Linked DNA regions of Homo sapiens: region 1 is linked to region 2. The links are contacts of gene promoters, found by promoter capture Hi-C in blood cells and fetal thymus (Javierre and others, 2016). All regions are on one chromosome and are shown on one strand. The core of a region is centred on a gene start or on the middle of the fragment in contact, and the rest is flanking DNA. Distances in the headings are between cores, read along the strand shown.

What was found. Contacts are between HindIII fragments. The CHiCAGO score rates a contact against its expected background, and 5 or more counts as called.
Region 1: a contact is called between the fragment with the promoter of HNF4A here and the fragment with the promoter of LINC01620 in region 2, in 2 of 17 cell types (M2 macrophages and megakaryocytes). The highest score is 6.0, in M2 macrophages.

What each region holds. Positions count from the first base shown.
Region 1 is chr20:44,354,043-44,357,239 of GRCh38, reverse strand. It overlaps HNF4A (hepatocyte nuclear factor 4 alpha), which reads right to left and starts at 1,541. Exons shown (of 10, transcript NM_175914.5): 1 at 1,387-1,541. The coding sequence starts at 1,435. R3HDML-AS1 (R3HDML antisense RNA 1) reads left to right here and starts at 1,998. Exons shown (of 4, transcript NR_184036.1): 1 at 1,998-2,221. HNF4A-AS1 (HNF4A antisense RNA 1) reads left to right here. Exons shown (of 3, transcript NR_172878.1): 3 at 1-496. The HindIII fragment of the contact is 34,205 bases long and covers 1-3,197 here.
Region 2 is chr20:44,463,734-44,466,661 of GRCh38, reverse strand. LINC01620 (long intergenic non-protein coding RNA 1620) reads left to right here and starts at 1,318. Exons shown (of 3, transcript NR_132343.1): 1 at 1,318-1,497. It also overlaps the pseudogene RPL37AP1. The HindIII fragment of the contact is 2,937 bases long and covers 991-2,928 here.

The DNA of each region.
Region 1 (3,197 bases), core at 292-2,791, 110 kb after region 2:
GGTCACACAGCTGGTGTGTGGGATGGGTTCCCAGGCTGTTGGTTTCTTCAGCCTCTGCCATTTCCAGTGCATCACATATTCCTGTTTGATGGGGGTCAAAGCAAAGAAGATTCTTCCTGACTAGAGTCAGGAGATCAGGCCCTGATTCTGTCATTCCCTGGCCCTCTGTCCTCAGCAATTGATGACATAAATGTTGATTGTGTCTTTGCAATGCACGTGGTATCAAGGGCTTTACATCCTTGTTCCCCACGGCATCCACCATGATCTTAAGACACATCCTAGTCCTGTCTCCACTTCAGAAAGAAAGCAAGAGGCACGTGAATGTTGAGCCGTGTGACAGAGTCACAACTAGACCCCGAGGTCTGCTGGATTCCAGAGACCAAGTTCTGTGCGGGTGTGTGATTTGAACAGGTTTATAAAAGGCACCCAACTTTTAAAAAATCCAAAATGTGTCCCCAAAAGATAAAACATTCTCTTGAATTTCCCTCCTCAGAAACAAACCTGTCACCAATTTTATTGTGTCATTCCACGAATTTTCTATGCGTGGAATGTACACGTATACGCGTGTGTACATATATACATCTATATCCGTTTCGCTATCAGCAACTACACAGTTCTTCAGTGTACCGTTTTCACTTAATTTAACTGAGAGGTTCTTCCCTGTCACACACAGATGTGCGTTGTTTCCTTGAACAATGGGATAGCATTCCACTGTAAAGACGTCTCACGCTTTATTTACCCGTCTTCCCTCTGCTGAGGGACATTGGGTTGCTTCCAATGTGGGGGTCACCCTAAGGAGTGAGCCTGAGCCTTTCACTCTCAGTAACACATGCTTTCTAGCCCTGCATCTGAGTTTCACACGTCCGCACAAGATATTCTCATTTTCCAACGCTCCACCCTGCGCGGCGCTTTCTACCTCCTCCCCATTATCCAGAGCCAACGGAGGTGCGGAGCGACCGAGCTGCCCGGTCCCACGCCCAGCTTGATAATGCACCAGCAACGTGACCTAGGCCCAGCAAGCCTCTCCTGGTGGACCTCAATTTGCCCCGCATCGAAACAGGACGGTGCTTCCAAGCCCCACCCTCTGTGGGGTTTTGGAAAGACCCCTGAGATGCATTCCCAGGAAGGCCTCTGGACAGACAAAATGAGCCAAGCCTCTGCCCCAGGGCTTCTCGGCCCCTCCCAGCACTTCTCGCACCAAGCAGGCCATGCCCCGGCTTGAGAGCTTAGGGAAGCGGTCACATTGCCTCCGTGGGGCTTCCTGCCCTTCCAGAGGAGCTCCAGGAGGAGCTTTGGGCCCGTAAGAAACACACGGGGAGGTGTCCCATGGCCTCCCAAAGCTGACCGCAGTCCCGCCCTGTCCAGTCTTCCCCCAGCCCCACTTACCGTAAGAACTCTCCACTGGAGCCCCGAGGGGCGCGTTCACGCTGACCATGGCCAAGCCCACCCAGCCGGAGAGCTGGGGGCATGGAGGAGCAGGGGCCCGCTCACAGCAGCAGCACAGCCACCAGGAGCCCGTCCACCAGGAAGGCGGTGAGTGCGGCCAGCTGCCACCGCCCGGTTATCTTATTGATTCTTCTAATCACCCAAGGTGGGTGGATACGTTAAAGAGTAACCAGTCACTTAGGGAACCCGCGGCTGGGGACTGTTGCTGTCTCCATGGCAATGGCGACCTGGCCAGACCTGAGGTCCACTCGGGTCCTAGTCCTGCACTCTGGGGTTAGGGGAACCCAGAGCCAGGTGTATGGGGACATCAGCCCCCCAATTTGAGGACAGGGCCGGAGCAGAAGGGGCTGGAGAGGTGAGAGTCCAACCTGGGTTGGGTTTTATGGCTCCAAACTATGGGTGTGTCACCATGCAGGAAGTAGTGGGAAAACCGAGGGAGGGGCAGAGGAAAAAAGGAGGGTGGAGAACTGTGTTTAGTGAGTGCCTACTGGATGCTGGGAGTTGCATACAGGCGTTACCATATTTAAATTAAACCTTGAGATGAAGGGACTGAAGGACAGAGAGAAATTGCATGCCTGGAGTCTCACTGCTAGTACATAGAGGTGTTATCTTCCTTTCATCTAACATATTTATTGAGCACCTACTATGTACCAGGCCTTGTGCTAGACTCTGGGGATATGGAAATGAGCAAAGTAGATGTACCCCCGAAACTTGTGGACTAATGGAGGAGACGGACCTTAATCAGATCGTCATTCAAAGATACTATTACAAACTGGTGAGTGATATGAGGGGTGGAGAAACATGGGGCTGCCTCCAGGCCAATGGGACAAAGTCATCCTGTCTGGCGTCTCCTCTGGTCTCCTTCCCCATTCTAAATTCAACCTGCTGCTGAAACTCACACACTCTGTTTTAGCTCCCTGGCATGTTAGACACCTGCCACCTAGCTTTTTTTTTGGAACAGCCCCGTTTCTTTTGTCTCAGTTTTGGATCTCACCACCTGCTTGGGGATTCTGAAATCAAGGTCATTCATCCTGTTAGAGAGAGCTGAAATGAGAACAGTGAAACAAATTCTGGACTCAGAAAAATCAGAAAACTCCAGCTCTATTATTTTCTTGCTGTATGTTTTTTAGTAAATTATTTCATTTCCTTATAGGAATACCTAGCTCATAGTTTGCCCTGCTTCTAAAATAGCTAATTGATAATATTCCTCTTCTCTTCCCATAGTCTCTTTTTTCAGCTTTATCAATCACCTCAGAGGGACCTTCAGCCCCTACAGATGGGCATGGGTTGCATTAAAATGTCCTTTCTTTTCTAAAACAACAGTGATAACAAACGTTAGATTTTGGGGCCGGGTGCAGTGGCTCACGCCTGTAACCCCAGCATTTTGGGAGGCCGAGGCGCACCGATCACGAGGTCAGGAGTTTGAGGCCAGCCTGACCAACATGGTGAAACCCCGTCTCTACCAAAAATAAAAAAATTAGCCGGGCATGGTGGCAAACGGGAGGCTGAGGCAAGAGAATCGTTTGAACCAGGGGGACAGAGGTTGCAGTGAGCCAAGATCGTGCCACTGCACTCCAGCCTGGGCAACAGAGAGAGACTCCATCTCAAAATAAATAAATAAATAAATAAATAAATAAATAAATAAATAACTTCGATATTTTTTAAAAAAAAGTATTAATATTCTTGGTCGGGTGTAGTGGCTCATGCCTGTAATCCCAGCAGTTTGGGAGGCTGAGGCAGGTGGATCACTT
Region 2 (2,928 bases), core at 69-2,568:
TGAAGACAGTGGCTGGCGGTGCCTGGACATACAATACCACCTCCGCTATCACGGTAAAGTCCGCCATCAGAAGCCTGAAGGAGTTGAAAGACCAGTAGACGCTCCTCTACTCTTTGAGACATCACTGGCCTGTAATAAATGGGTTAATTTACGTAACAACAACAACAACAAAAAAGAGCCCAGTCCAAACCCACAGCTGCTAAAATTTGGCCATGGCTACCCAAAACCCCCACATTTACTATTACCCCTATACCCACCACATTCTCCTAGGATGGGAAGAGGAAGCAAAGAGTTCTTTGGTGACCATCTCCCTGGAAGGGTGGAATGGGGTCATGGGGGCTCTTCCATGAGAGGGGCCACTATATGTAGAGAATAATGTGTGGCCATTATGAGGGGGCCCAGTGGTCTCATGTGGGCATGGACATCTAGAGGCTGAGAGAAACGGGCTGCCTGGCTGAACTGGTGAAGGAGCCAGTGTGGGCGTGCTAAGGTAAGCCACATTCCCAGGACTTTCGGAGTACAGGCTGCTGGCTGGAGTGTTTCCCATGGGCCAGTGTTGGCAGAGAGCACCTACAAGGGGTCCTCTTGGGTCCTGTCCCCTAGAGCCTCCTGGAGGGGCAGAGGTGTGGCAGCAGCAAGAAGCTTGAGTTGGATGTTGGGTTCCTAAGGGCTGACGAAGGACTTGCAAGGGACCCCTATGAGGAGAGATGCATCCCCCAAGGTTAAGAGTGAGAGGGCCCCTGTGACAGTGGCCATCTCCATGGAGCCCACGACAGAAAGGGGCAGCTTGAAGCCAGCCAGGATGGTGGCAGCTCAAGGGAGACCCTTCCTCTCCCCTTGCCATCTCCAACACCCCCCACTGTACCCCACGGGTGGGTGAGGGAAGGAGAGATAGAGAAGGAGTCACCCACACCACCTCCCTGAAGCAGGCCTGAGGGTGAGGGGAGAAGGTTTAAACCCAAATCAAATTGGGAATTTTGGTTAGAAGCTTGACTGGACATTCTCATTTCTAAATTGAGGTTGTGTTTGTGACCTAAAGTGACCATAGAATTGCCTGTTTCCTCAGAACAAGCAGAAGAATAATGGGGAGATTTCACCCAGTGGCAGGGAAAATGTTTCTCTACCAAATACATCTTAGAAAGGACACTGGGAGATACAAATTAAGGTATGCTTTGATTATGTCACAGGCTGGGTTTGTTCAACATGCTGGTCTCAGTGAGAAGGAGGATTCTCCAAAACAAGTCTAGGAAGTGAATGTTCCAGAATGTTCTAGAACTTGATTCATTAGGCAGGCAAGAAGTGTGCCTCTGGGAACCTCTTGAGCCCTTCATGGGCTAGCACACCAACACCATCCCCCCAGATGCTTCAGTTGTTGGCTTCGAATGGCTTACTATTTCCATTTCTACGGAGAACTGCCATCTCAGGAATCACCTCACCCTGGAGTTTATTCCCCTCACCCACAGGGTGGCTGGCAGCCAACAGCTGACTCGTACAGAGGTACACAAAGCCAGCCTTTTTGCTAGACTTTACCTGAGACCACATCTTTTCTTGTTTCCCTCCCTGTCTTGCTTCCCTTCATCCCTTACAGGTTCTTTCCTTTATAAATCACACAGTACCTAATCTTTGCTTCAGGCTCTGTGTCTGAGGAGCTGAAAATGATTTTGGGCATCAGGAGGTGCTTTTGTGACTGGGCTCTTTCACTAGTTCTGAGCTAGGTAATCCATTAGCGAAACTTCTAGATCCTAAATCAAACTACATAGATTCAAATCACAGCACCATTACTTCACTGCTGTGTGACCTTGGCCAATGACTAGTTACTACATCCCAGTTTTCTCATCTGTCATACAGAAGGCAAACACTGACCCACCTCACAGGGCTTTGCAAGGATTCAACATACAAAAGCACCTAGGATAGTGCCTGGCACAATCGATGGTGCCATTGTTATTCCTCCAGGCTAACAGCACTGACTAAGTGCAAAGGAAGTGGCTTTTTGCCATCTAGTTGAGGATGCTGTATCCTGGGGTAAGTGGCCAGATCATAGGATGGCTGTGGTTCAATTGTAATAAAATAATCACCCTTGGCCAGGCTGGTGGCTCACACCTGTAATCCAGCACTTTGGGAGGCCGAAGCAGGTGGATCACCTGACGTCAGGAGTTCGAGACCAGCCTGGCTAACATGGTGAAACCTTGTCTCCACTAAAAATACAAAAATTAGCCAGGCATGGTGGTGCGTGCCTGTAATCCCAGCTACTTGGGAGGCTGAGGCAGGAGAATCACTTGAACCTGGGAGGCGGAGGTTGCAGTGAGCTGAGATTGCAACACTGCACGAGACTCCATCTCAAAAACAACAACAACAACAAAAACCCACCGTTTATGGAACCCCTACTATGTCCCAGTCCCTGTTCTATGTGCTGCATATGTGCTTATGTGCTAGTTCACTCTGTCTTCACTACCTTTCAAAACTGATGTAATTATCTCCTTTCTTTTTTGAGATGGAGTCTCGCTCTGTTGCCAGGCTGGAGTACAGTGGCACGATCTTGACTCACTGCAACCTCCGCCTCCCGGGTTCATGTGATTCTCCTGCCTCAGCCTCCCGAGTAGCTGGGACTACAGGTGCACACCACCATGCCCAGCTAATTTTTGTACTTTCAGTAGAGATGGGGTTTCACCATGTTGGCCAGGATGGTCTCGATCTCTTGACCTCATGATCTGCCTGCCTCAGCCTCCTAAAGTGCTGGGATTACAGGCGTGAGCCACTGCACCCGGCCAATTATCTCCATTTTACACATGAAAACACTGAGGTCCAGACAGTCTAAGAAACCATCTATTAGATCCACAGGTTAAAAAAAATGAGTGCATCTAAAATGACTATAATTAAAAAGGCCAGACTGGGAAGTAGTTTGCAGTTTCTTAAAAAGTTAAACACACA